4 separate regions of the Homo sapiens genome follow, and all the other regions are linked to region 4. Evidence: promoter capture Hi-C in human tissues and cell types (Jung and others, 2019). All regions are on one chromosome and are shown on one strand. The core of a region is centred on a gene start or on the middle of the fragment in contact, and the rest is flanking DNA. Distances in the headings are between cores, read along the strand shown.

What was found. Contacts are between HindIII fragments. The study calls those that stand out against the background at their distance.
Region 1: a fragment that was not itself captured here is called in contact with the fragment with the promoter of KCNH3 in region 4 in 2 of the 25 tissues and cell types used here (lymphoblastoid cells and psoas muscle).
Region 2: a fragment that was not itself captured here is called in contact with the fragment with the promoter of KCNH3 in region 4 in 2 of the 25 tissues and cell types used here (adrenal gland and mesenchymal stem cells).
Region 3: a contact is called between a fragment that was not itself captured here and the fragment with the promoter of KCNH3 in region 4, in 3 of the 25 tissues and cell types used here (aorta, dorsolateral prefrontal cortex and mesenchymal stem cells).

Annotation. Positions count from the first base shown.
Region 1 is chr12:49,430,974-49,434,032 of GRCh38, forward strand. All of the region lies in intron 2 of SPATS2 (spermatogenesis associated serine rich 2), which reads left to right. Among named protein-coding and RNA genes, the nearest start is that of SPATS2, 65 kb to the left of the region's middle. The HindIII fragment of the contact is 7,181 bases long and covers 1-3,059 here.
Region 2 is chr12:49,461,380-49,464,227 of GRCh38, forward strand. The region is part of intron 3 of SPATS2 (spermatogenesis associated serine rich 2); the gene reads left to right. Among named protein-coding and RNA genes, the nearest start is that of KCNH3, 76 kb to the right of the region's middle. The HindIII fragment of the contact is 4,568 bases long and covers 1-2,848 here.
Region 3 is chr12:49,607,341-49,610,502 of GRCh38, forward strand. It overlaps a transcript of FAM186B not described here. Among named protein-coding and RNA genes, the nearest start is that of FAM186B, 3.3 kb to the left of the region's middle. The HindIII fragment of the contact is 4,316 bases long and covers 1-3,162 here.
Region 4 is chr12:49,537,254-49,540,373 of GRCh38, forward strand. It overlaps KCNH3 (potassium voltage-gated channel subfamily H member 3), which reads left to right and starts at 1,777. Exons shown (of 15, transcript NM_012284.3): 1 at 1,777-2,239. The coding sequence starts at 2,164. RefSeq lists silencers at 738-857, 1,588-1,767 and enhancers at 1,085-1,896, 1,897-2,706. The HindIII fragment of the contact is 20,416 bases long and covers 1-3,120 here.

The DNA.
Region 1 (3,059 bases), core at 106-2,605, 110 kb before region 4:
ACTGTGCCCAGCTGGGGTCTTTTTAAAAAGGGTGCGCTATTAATTTTTTTGAACAGATAAGATGTTTATATTATTCCAATGTCAAAATATAAAAAGGTAGACTGAAAAGTCTTTCTTACCCTAGTTTCCTATCTTTTCAGTTTCCATTCTTCAAGAGATCATCACTGCTACTAGTTTTTTGTCTATCCTTCCAGGTATACAGTTTTTATATATGTGCAAACCAGTGCAAATACATTACTTTCTCCATCATATTCACTTAATAAATATATAAAGAACTTTTTTTTTTTCTTTTTAAGGTGGAGCCTCGCTCTGTCGCCCAGGCTGGAGTGCAGTGGCGCGATCTTGGCTCACTGCAACCTCCGTCTTCTGGGTTCAAGTGATTCTCCTGCCCTGGCCTCCTGAGTAGCTGGGACTACAGGCACGCGCCACCACGCCCAGCTAATCTTTTGCTTTTTTAGTAGAGACGGGGTTTCACCGTGTTGGTCAGGCTGGTCTTGAACTCCCAACCTTGTGATCTGCCCGCCTCGGCTTCCCAAAGTGCTGGGAATTCAGGCATGAGCCACCGCACCGGGCCCAAAGAACTTTTCTCAAAAACATTTGCACAGTATTCTCATTATGTGGACAGATTACAATTAATTAAACCAGTGTCCTATTAATTGACAATTAGTTTGAATATTTTGCTCTTATAAATAATGTTGCATTGGATAACCTTGAATACATAGGTTTATACATTTGCAAACAGCCTTGCAAGGTAAATTCCTAGAAATTGTCTTGCTAGGGTGGGTGTGATAGCTCATGTTTGTAATCCCAGCACTTTGGGAGGCCGAGGCAGGAGGATCACTTGAGCTCAGCAGTTTGAGACCAGCATGAGCAACATATGAAACCCTGTGTTTACAAAAAATACAAGAATTAGCTAGGTGTGGTAGTGTGCACCTGTAGTCCCAGCTACTCGGGAGGATCGTTTGAACCTGGGAGGTTGAGGGTACAGTGAGCCTGGGCAACAAAACAAGACCTTGTCAAAAAAAACAAATTGTCTTCCTGGGTCAAATAATATATACATTTTTAATTTTGACAGCTACTGCTTAGTTGTCTTCCAAAGATACTGTATAAATTTACATTCTCACTTAGATGTGAGGGGCCTGTTTGTCCACACCTCAGTACCTGTGTGTTTTGTCATCATTTTGGATTTTTGCAAAAATGATGATAAAACACACAGGTGGCTGGGCGTGCTGGCTTATGCCTGTAATCCCAGCACTTGGGGAGGGTGAGGCAGGTGGATCATGGGTTCAGGAGTTCGAGACCAGCCTGGCCAACATAGTGAAACCCTGTCTCTACTAAAAATACAAAAATTAGCTGGGTGTGGTGGCAGGCGCCTGTAGTCCCAGCTACTGGGGACGCTGAGGCAGAAGAGTCACTTGAACCCAGGAGGCGGAGGTTTCAGTGAGCCAAGATAGCACCACTGCACTCCAGCCTGGGCGACAGAGTGAGACTCCGTCTCAAAATATATATACATATGTAAATGAAAGTTCAGGAGCGTTAAGTATATTCACATTGTTGTATAACAGATCGCCCAAAGTTTTTTTATCTTTGCAAAACTGAAATTCCATACCCATTAAATAACAACCCAGCCCCTGGCCCACCATTCTACTTTCTGTTTCTATGAGTTTGACTACTTTACCTCATATAAGTGGAATCATACAGTTTTTGTCTTTTTGCAACTGGCTTGTTTCAATTAGTGCATTGTCCTCAAGGTTCCTCCATGTTGTAGCATGTGACAGGATTTCCTTTTTTTTAAAGGCTGAATAATATTCTCTTGTATGTATATACCACATTTTATCTATTCATCCTTTGATAGACACCGGTTGCTTTCACCTCTTTTCTGAATAATGCTACCATGAACATGAGTACACAAATATCTCTTTGATATTCAGCTTTGAGATGTTTTGAATACGTATCCAGAGTTGGGAGTCCTGGATCATGTGGTAGTTCTAATTTTAATTTTTTGGGAACCTTTATACTGTTTTCCATAGTGGCCATTACCATTTTACATTCTTGCCAGCAGTACACAAGGGTTCCAATTTTTCCACATCTTTACTAATACTTATTTTATTTTCTGTTTTTGTTTTTACTTTGTTTTATTTTGGGTAGCAGCCATCCTAGTGGGTTCAAGGTGTTAACTCATTGTGTCTTGTTTTGTTTTGTTTTGTTTGAGACGGAGTCTCTCTGTCACACAGGCTGGAGTGCAGTTGCGTGATCTCAGCTCACTGCAACCTCCGCCTCCCAGGTTCAAGCGATTCTCCTGCTTCAGGCTCCCGAGTAGCTGGGACTACAGGTGTGCACCACCATGCCTGGCTAATTTTTGTATTTTTAGTAGAGACAGGGTTTCACCATGTTGGCCAGGCTGGTCTCGAACTCCTGACCTCAAGTGATCTGCCGACCTCGGCCTCCCAAAGTGCTGGGATTACAGGCGTAAGCCATTTCAACCTGACCCTGGTTTTGTTTTGCTTTTTTAAGAGCACATGAGCTCCTGATCATTGTGGTTTTGATTTGCATTTCTCTAATAATGAGTGATTGAGCATCTTTTCACGTGTTTGGTGACCATTTATTTATCTTCTCTGGAGAAATGCCTGTTTAACTCCTTTGCCTATTGTACAGTTGGGTTTTTGTTGTTGTTGTTGTTGTTGTGGATTTGCAGGAGTTCTTCATAAATTCTGGATATTAACCCTTTATAATAGATATATGACTTGCAAGTATTTTCTGCCATTTCATTGGTTGCCTTTTTACTTCATTGATTGCTTAGAAGTTTTAAGTTTAATGTAATCCCATTTGTCTATTACTGCTTTTTTGCGTGCACTTTTGCTGTCATATCTAAGAAATTGCCAAATCCTGCCTCATGAAGCTTTCCCCTTGTTTTCTTCTAGGAGTTTCATAGTTTTAGGTCTTACATTTGGTTCCTTATTTCTTTTTGAGTTAATTTTTGTGTATGGTGTAAGGTAACGGTCCAGCTTCATTCTTTTGCATGTAGATATCCAGTTTTCCCAACGTCATTTGTTGAAGAG
Region 2 (2,848 bases), core at 301-2,800, 76 kb before region 4:
AAGAGTAAATGTTTCTGGGTTTTGTTTCCTTCTTTAGCTTTCCTTCCGGGAATGTTCTTCTAGCTTCTTATCTAAAGTGAAATACAAGGTGCAAAGAGTCAGGAAATAGAAGGGTAGTTATAATGGAGGGAAGGACAACAAAGACTTTGTAAAACCTTTTTCTACTTTTCTAGAATAGCTGCAAAAATTTCAAGGGACAAAGTGAACAACAGCACTAGAACTATTGTACATAATTGGAATATATTGATTAAAAGAATGATCATAGATATCTTGGCGTTTTCCCCTCATTCAATTTAATTTCCAGTTCAAAGTTAATGTTCTTTAATTCAAAGCAAAGCTATTCATAGATCCAGGTCTCACATGTTAAATATGAAGAAAATTCTTTTAAACCTAATTTTGACTTGATAATTCAAAAACCTTATAAGAAAGTAAATAAACCAGATTTGTAGTTGTAGCTTCATTGTGTAGTAAATCTATAGGAAGAATCTGAGCTCTAAGGAATGCTTAGATTACTAAAGCTGAACTGTTCTGTGGAATGAAATTTACCAACGGAAAAGTTTTTTTTAATAACCCAAGTTTGTTTTTTCTTAGTTGTTATAATTCAGTTTGTTTTTTCCCAGTTATGCTTGAAACATTGAGCATCTGTTTTCACCCTGCAAATGAGAAATACTATAGTAAAAATAGGGTTCTGGAAAAGTTGAGCATTTAATTTTTCCAAAAAAAAAGTTAACTTCAGCAAATTACTTTGACCTTTTTAAAACTAGAGAGTCTTTATTTCATGTCTGTGTTTTGCCAGAGCTGTAGAAAAAAAGTATCATTGTGAAGCAGGATATTTCCCTGGCCCCTTTGCAGGAGTCTCTCCTTTACTCAGCCTGCCTCTCTCAACTCCTCACAGGAAGGAGAGCGCGAGTGAACAAGGAAGGAACTGGAGGGCATGAGTGCTGGAACCGGCTGGCTGCTTCAGTACCAGCAGGGGTGAACTCTGTGTGGGCCCCGTGGCAGCATCCAGGCTGTGGGGTGCCTGTGACCCCCGAAGCTCCAGAGGGCATGTTACAGTGCTCTTCTGGCTCTGCCATTTGTGGACGGCTTAAGTGTTAACAGCTCAGTGGGCCCTTTCCCCCCGTGTGTGGGGTGGCTGCCCTCTGCCAGCAAGGGCAAAGGGCCAGTGTGACAGCCTTTTGTATCTGCACTCGTGGCTCCTGAGCTCTTGTCTGGTGTCCAGGAAAAATGAGGTCACACGAATGAATTGAAGGATGGTAAATGCGGGAGATTTTATTGCTGATGAAAGTGGCTTTTAGCAGGAAGGGGAGCTGAAAAGGGGTTGGTGGGGTGCGGGTAGATAATCTTTCCCTGAAGTCCAGCTGTCTCCAGCTAGTTTTTTCTCCAAAGTTACACCATCAAGCTGTCCCTCTAAAGTCAACCCACTTCTCTCCGACATCCTGACGTCCAGCTAGTTCTCCTCTCTGCCAGCTGAGTCTGGGGTCTTTATAGGCACAGAATGGGGCAGGGTGGGGCCATGGGTGGTTTAGGAAAAGGCAACAAACAGGAAAACAGAGATATAAGTTCTCACATTGGGCCAAGGTTTCAGGCATTTTGGCTTGAGGGTGGCGTTTTAACCGGTGACCCACCCTTTTCTGCCTAGAATTTCTCTGCCTCCTGTCCCCATCAGTTGCTTTTTTCTAATTACTATAAAATGAATTTAAATATTAACTATAAAAGAATTTAAATTTTAGACTACAACATAGGCCGGGTCTGGTGGCTCACGCCTATAATCCCAGCACTTTGGGAGGCCGAGGTGGGTGGGTCACAAGGTCAGGAGATTGAGACCATGCTGGCTAACACAGTGAAACCCCGTCTCTACTAAAAATACAAAAAAAAAAAAAATTAGCCGGGCGTGGTGGCGGGTGCCTGTAGTCCCAGCTACTCAGGAGGCTGAGGCAGGAGAATGGTGTGAACCCAGGAGGCGGAGCTTGCAGTGAGCAGAGATCATGCCACTGCACTCCAGCCTGGGCAACAGAGAGAGACTCTGTCTCAAAAAAAAAAAAAAAAAAAATAGACTACAACATAGACACTAAGTGCTTACCAGTTTTGGTTGAACTTAGCCTAGATTTACACTTAGTTGGAAACAAAGTAAAGCTTATGTGTTGTTGGGACTTTCTCTGAAACAAATCTATGCATGTAATTCATTTGCATGTCTGATATTTGGTCCCATGACATATAAAATATTACAACATTTCATTTATTCATTTATACGTTTAAAGTGTCATTGCTTTGGGTTTTAGTAGTCTAATCTGTAAATACACTGACTTTATCAACTTGGTTATACTACATTAAAAAGAAGGGTCTATGGTAGTCATTGTTCTTAGTGGTATTTCATTTACAGGCTCTCATTTTGTAATGAGTTATGTTTTTATTCAGCAATAGACCATGTTTTCATATTTTCCTTTTGTCAGTAATACTTGTAAATTCCTTATTTAATGAAATACTTAGTGGAGTTAAACTTGAACAGCTTAAATTAAATTAAGTCAGTTTCAGTTAAAACTATTGATTACTCCAAGCCTATTAGCCAATATCTAGCAGAAGTCAGAGCTGTGCTTCTTAGAGTGTGGGCTGTAGACCCTATTCCTGTCTGTGAACTGGAGAAGTATATAGAAATGAAGAGTGTTTAGGAACTCTTTGATAGTGATTTGACAGTGTGGCAACATCTAAGCCCTTTTAAACACAGTTTTATTGAGGTATAATTTAAATACCTTAAAATTTGCCCAAGTGTATAATTTGATTATTTTTAGTAAATTTATGGAGTTGTGCACCATCACCAAAATCTTGTTTTAAAACACTTTCCGACTGG
Region 3 (3,162 bases), core at 633-3,132, 70 kb after region 4:
AGAATAAGAGACTACAGACTCTACAGTGGGAATAATATGAGAGAGCAATATGAAAAACCTTTATGCCAATAAAGTTGGTAAATTAGATGAAATGGGCAAATTCTTTAACATACGTAACCTATCGATGCTCACTAAAGAAAAAAAAAGCTTTGAATATCCGTAAATCTACTAAAGAAATTGGATTCATAATATAAAAAACCTTTCCCTCAAAGAAAACTCCAGCCCCAGATAGTTTAATTGGTGAGTTCTGCCAAACATTTAAGAAAAAAAAGATACGGTTCTATAAAAACTCTTTCAAAAAATTGAATAGTAAAGAACACTTCTCAAATCATTTTATGAGGTTAGCATTATTTTTATTTTATTTTTTAATTTTTTCTGAGACAGAGTCTTACTCTGTTGCCCAGGCCAGAGTGCAGTGGCGTGATCTCGGCTCACTGCAACCTCCACCTCCTGGGTTCAAGTGATTCTCCCACCTCAGCCTCCCTAGCAGCTGAGACTACAGGTGCGTGCCACCACGCGCAGCTAATTTTTGTATTTTTAGTAGAGATGGGGTTTCACCATGTTGGTCAGGCTGCTCTCAAACTCCTGACCCCAGGTGATCCACCCACCTTGGCCTCCCAAAGTGCTGGGATTACAGGCATCAGCCACCGCACCCAGCTGAGGTTAGCATTATCTTGGTACCAAAACCAGAAAAACATGACAAGAAAAGAAAAAAAAGTACTACAGACTAATATTGCTCACAAATATAGACATAAAAGAAAATGAATTGATTGGGAGGCTGAAACAAGAGGATTGCTTGACTGCAGGAGCTGAAGTCCAGCCTGGGCAACTTAGCAAGACTTCATACCTTAAAAAAAAAAAAAAAGTTGGCCGGGTGCGGTGGCTCATGCCTGTAATCCCAGCACTTTGGGAGCCTGAGGCGGGTGGATCACTTGAGGTCAGGAGTTCAAGATGAGCCTGGCCAACATGGTGAAACCTTGTCTCTACTAAAAACATAAAAATTAGCTGGGTGTGGTGGTGTGCACCTGTAATCCCAGCTACTCTGGAAGCTGAGGCAGGAGAATTGCTTGAACCCAGGAGTCCTGGGTTGCAGTGAGCTGAGATCATATCACTGTACTCCAGCCTGAGTGACAGAGCAAGACTCCGTCTCCAAAAAAAAAAAAAAAACCAAAAACCTTTTTTTTCCCCAAGATGGCAGATTTGGGGCTGTTAGTGTGCCTCAGTCACTTGGAAATTGCAAGGTAGTGCATAAAGATCAACTCTGTGGGCTTTAATTCAAGAAAGAAAATGGGAATCCAACAGAATCATGAAGAACACCCTAGGTCTCAGGGAGGAAAACAAAGGCAAACAGCCCCCGTGATGGCATTTGGCTCATAAAAGTGAGTGAAGCCCCAGTACATGAGAGAGGCAGACAGGCTCTTTCCATCCAGTGGAAAGGGCACTTTGGGAAAGTGCCCTTTCCACTGGAGATACAAGCAACAGAGGCCAAGGGAGAGCACTTTGTTTCTCCCAAGTCCTGGAGGTAACTTGAGAAGATATTTGGAGACACTGAGAAGGAAAGACACTGGGAAAAGCTGTAGGCATTTCCCAGGCCCAGGATGCCACTTTTAATCCAGGCATACAAAGTTAGTCATTCTTTGGCGACACAGTAGCGTGGCCACACAGGCATTTTAGTCTTGGGCCAGAGATTGGAGTGCCTGCTCTCGAGGTGCATAGAGGTTTCTACAGCCAGAATTGTAGAAAGCACCTTGCAGTAGGTGCTGGCAATGTGCTCTTCCCTGTCACAGGACTGGGGTGGGAAAGGGACTGCTACAGCTGTGGTTTCTCCTAGGCAACAAGATGCAACCAGGGTCAGCTTGGTGACCTGTGGACTGGTCTGAGTGAGTTATTGCTTGGTATGCTAGACTGTTCTCCTGAGATCATGGTGCAGTGGGGCCCTCTCAGCTCAACACTCAGGGAGATCTCCAGGCATTTGGAGCACCCACTCACCCAGATCAGCAGCCTGAGCTGCCCTATCCTTCCTGTGCAGACACTCTAGTGAAGTGGGGCTCACTCTGCTCCACACCCAGGCAGATCTTCAGGAATTTGGAGCACCTGCTTGCCTGCATTTGCAGTCTGAGTTGGCACACCCTTCCTGTATAGAGACCATGGTGAAGAGGCACCCTATCCACCCCATGCCCAGACAGATCTCTAGGCAGTCGGAGCATCCGTTCACATGAATTAGCAGCCTGCCACCCCACCCTCCCTGTGTAGAGATTGTGGTGCAGCAGTGCCCTCTGCATTCCACACTCAGACACCTGGAGCATGCACTCTCCTGGATTAGGAGTTTAGGCCACCCTGGTTCCTTGTGCATAGAACTTGGGGCCAAGGAGGTTTCCCAACTCAACAACTAGCAACACCTCTGGGCACTGGGTGGCAGCCCACTGGATTCTCCCTTGGTGTTGGTGCTGTGCCTGCCATTGAGGGACCTGTAGACAGGCCTGCTCTGGTCCAGCCCCACTCATCTTACCTCCTGGGACTGAGCAGGGAGCTCAAGCCACTGTGCATTCCATGGATCAGCCCATTGCCTGAGGCAACAGAGAGCTTCTGCCAGTAAACAAGGATCAAGAATATACCCAGCCACGCTGGCCACAGCTGGCTCTTACTTATAAGTGCCATCTACTGGCCTGTACATCAAACCACACAACCCAATATAAAATCTGCTGATAGTATACAAGGCTATAGAAGCAAAGCCAAAAGACCCAATCTAATATTCTCTACAGTCATTACCCCCTAGGCAGGGGAGAGGGAAAGGGAAGGTGGAAAAAAAAAAAAAACCGATATTATAGGGAAAGAAATAAAAAGAAAAAAATTCTGTCCCCCCACACACAAATTAGAATTGCCAGCATCTCCAGATGAGAAAGAACCAAAGCAAGAATTCTGGCACCATGAAAAATCTGAATGTAGTGACACCACCAAAGGATCGCACTAGATGTCTAGTCCTTAACCAAAATTGAAACTCAGAAATGACAGATAAAGAATTCAAAGCATGGATTGCTAGGAAACTCAACAAGATCCAAGACAAGGTTGAACATCAACCTAAAGAAACTTCTAAAGCAATCCACAAAATGAAGGAATAGATAAACATCTTGAAAATAAATCAGTCAGAGCTTCTGGAATTGA
Region 4 (3,120 bases), core at 527-3,026:
TCCCAACTACTTGGGAGGCTGAGGCAGGATAATTGCTTGAACTTGGTCGGCATAGGTTGCAGTGAGCAGAGATAGCTCCAATGCACTCCAGCCTGGGCGACAGAGGGAGACTCCGTCACAAAAAAAAAAAAAAAAAAAAAAAAATTCACACAGACCAAAATTAAAAAAAAAATTTAATCACAGGGACAGCAAGTGGCAGACCTGGTTCCCAAGTGGGTGGGTGATTTCAATTGTGGCCTTATCCTGTCTCAAAGTGAACTGACTCCTAAAATGTCCTTCTTTTTAGTAGACAGCTGGACCGCCGCCTGGAGAGGAAGCCTTGAACGGCTGGGGGAGGGGATTACTTTACAGCCAGGATCCAGCCAAGGCTGGGGATGAGATGGGAGTAGGATCTCCCGACTCCTTAGGGTCACTCCTCAGGGTCACTCCTCGTCCTGGGGACCAGATTCCAGGCTTCACAGGACCGGAGAAGGAGGAGCGCGTCCTCCCTTCCCAAAGCGCCAGCTCATTTAGATACAGGTGCCTGGGGCTTTGGCTCTCGTCGCTGATGAGGGGTAGCATCTTTCTGATGCTGGTGACTGTGAGTGCGTCTCGAGGGATGGGGGTGCTGAGCCTACCGCTTCGCTCGTTAGGGAACAAATTGCTGTTTTGGCCCCGGCGGCTCCTCTGGGCGCGGGCGGCAGCCGCGCTCGCTGGCAAATCGTGGGAGGGAGGAGGAGCGGCGCTGGCAGGCAAGTCCGGGGGACCGTCGCAGCGCGGGAGGCCAAGAAAAGACGGCCGCCCCGGGCCCGGCTCCGCCCCGCCGGGAAGGGGCTCCCTGCAGCCGCCCCAGGGCAGCACCCCGCGCGGCGCCGCGCGGAGCTCTCCAGGACGAGCTGCGTGAGGCGCGGGGCTCGGCCTTCCTCGCTCTCCTGGTGCCAGGACCCGCACGCACAAGGTTCGGAAGTTTTTTCGCAGTGTCTGACCCCTGCCGGTCCCCTGTATTTACCACCTGACCCTCTAGCGCGCTTAGGAGAGGCAAGAGGTGACAAATGCCAGAGGGAAATGGAGGGGCAGGACAAGGGGTCTGGCGCTCCCCTCCCCACCACACACCCTTTCCGCCCACGGGGTCACACGGAGGACGTCTGACCCTTACTCCTAGGGCTACCCACCCTCTGGTTTCCAGGCAGCTCCTGCTTGCGGAGACACCTCATAGGAGCAGCTGGATCCATTTTCCAGAGCGTCAAGTTGAGGATGAGAAAGTCTCGAGGGCCGGGCAGCTGTGCGCGCAGAACCCCCGCCCCATCTGCTTTTAGATTTCCCGGGTGCGGCTGGAGCCCCTCTAGAGCGCCGGCCTCCGCTGGCCGCAGGGCCTTCACCTGCGCCTGTCGCCCTGTCCCCTTGCCCACTGCATTTTCCTCGGGGAGAGCATCTTCCACAGCATGCGTCCCCTGCCCCCCACGCCCCGAGCCCCCCTCCCATTCCGCCGGGGGAGGAGAGGCTGCTAGGAGGCTCTCGGAGAGCCCCCGGGCTGCAGAGAAAGACGCCTCCCCTCTGCGGCTGAGGCCGAGTGAGCCAAAGGGGGCCGGCCGCTCGCCAGTGGTTCTCCGAGGTACGGGCGGGGAGGCCCGCGGGGTGGGATCAGGGCGGCCGCCACCTCCCCGCCCCCGCCGAGGTCCCGAAGGGAGGGGAGCCCTCCGCGGGAGGCCTGTCCCTTTAAGGAGGCGGCCCTGGCTGGGTGTGCCCCGTCTCCATGGTTACCCCGGTGCAGGCGGCGGGCGCGGGAGGGAGGGAGGGAGGCTGCAGCTTCTCCCCGACAGACGGAGGGAGCTGCCGAGAGCCGGCGCCGAGCGAAGCCGAGCGGAAGCCCACCCGCAGCCGACACGCGAGCCGCTGCCGCGGCGGGAGGTGCTGAGAGCGCGGCGGCCGCGGGGCCTGGAGCCCGGGATTTGTGGGCGGCGAGGGCGCGAGGGGCCGCGCGCCATGCTCCGGGCCCCGACGGCGCGGACGCCCCCTCGCGCGCCAGCGTCCGGCGCGACCCCGGATCCCGGTCTGCGCATTGCCCCCCGACGGCTGCGCTAGGGAGCGCGGGGCCCGGCGGGGGGCGGCCGAGCTGGGCGCCCTCCCCCGGCGCGGAGTCCCCGCACCCCGGAGGGATGGGGCGGGCAGCCGCGGGCGCCTAAGATGCCGGCCATGCGGGGCCTCCTGGCGCCGCAGAACACCTTCCTGGACACCATCGCTACGCGCTTCGACGGCACGCGTGAGTCCGACCCTCGCCCACTTGCACCCGGGCCGCCGGACCCTCGCCAGGGCTCCCGCCTTCCCCGAACCCCCAGCAGCCCAGCTTGGCGCCAGCCTATTCTCACCCTCTCCTCCCTACCCGCCCCTCTTGAGGCTGGGGCCATCGTCTCCTGCTAGGCGCTGTTTCCCCGAAGGTTCGAAGGTTCGGGGTCAACACTGCTTCAGGCGAGGCAACAGGGCCAGAAGTCCCTGGGTGTGGGTCCTGGGATGCTCTCTGTTAGCCGGGTCTCGAACCCGAACCTAGTCAGTCTGACCCATCCCACCCCTGCGTCTGGCGCTGTCGCAGCAACTACCCTCGGACTGGTGGGGTAAGGCGAGGCGGGTGAACAGTGCTCAGGGACAGCTGAGAGGGCTCAAAACACAGATTTAGAAAAGAGATTTGCAAACGGAGATAAGAGTAGGCGGCACTCGGGAGAGCACCGTGTGTCCAAGCCCCGTGTCTCATAGCCTGAACCCCCTAGACTTGGGGAGGCCATCTAGCCCCAAGAAGATGGTTTGGGGACTCCCATCAGGACTGGGGAAGTTTGGAGAAGGCGCCCCGAGCTCTGGATCCCCGGTTCTGGGGGCTCTGAGCACAGGGGAAGTGATGAAAGCCCCTCCCTCCTCCTCTCCCTCACATCCCCCGTGGGGCTTCCCAGCTCTCTGCCTAGGTCCTCCTTGGTCTCCGGTTCCTGATAGGGGGTGGGAGCCCAGCCCTGCGCTCTCCCCACTCCGGGCTCCTCCATCTGCTTTGCCAGTGTGCTTGGCTCCTGCAGCCTGCTGATTCAGTGCCCCCCACTCCCCAATACATTCCTGGCTCCTGGCTCCCGTGCTCAGTCACCATTCTTACACCCCCATTCT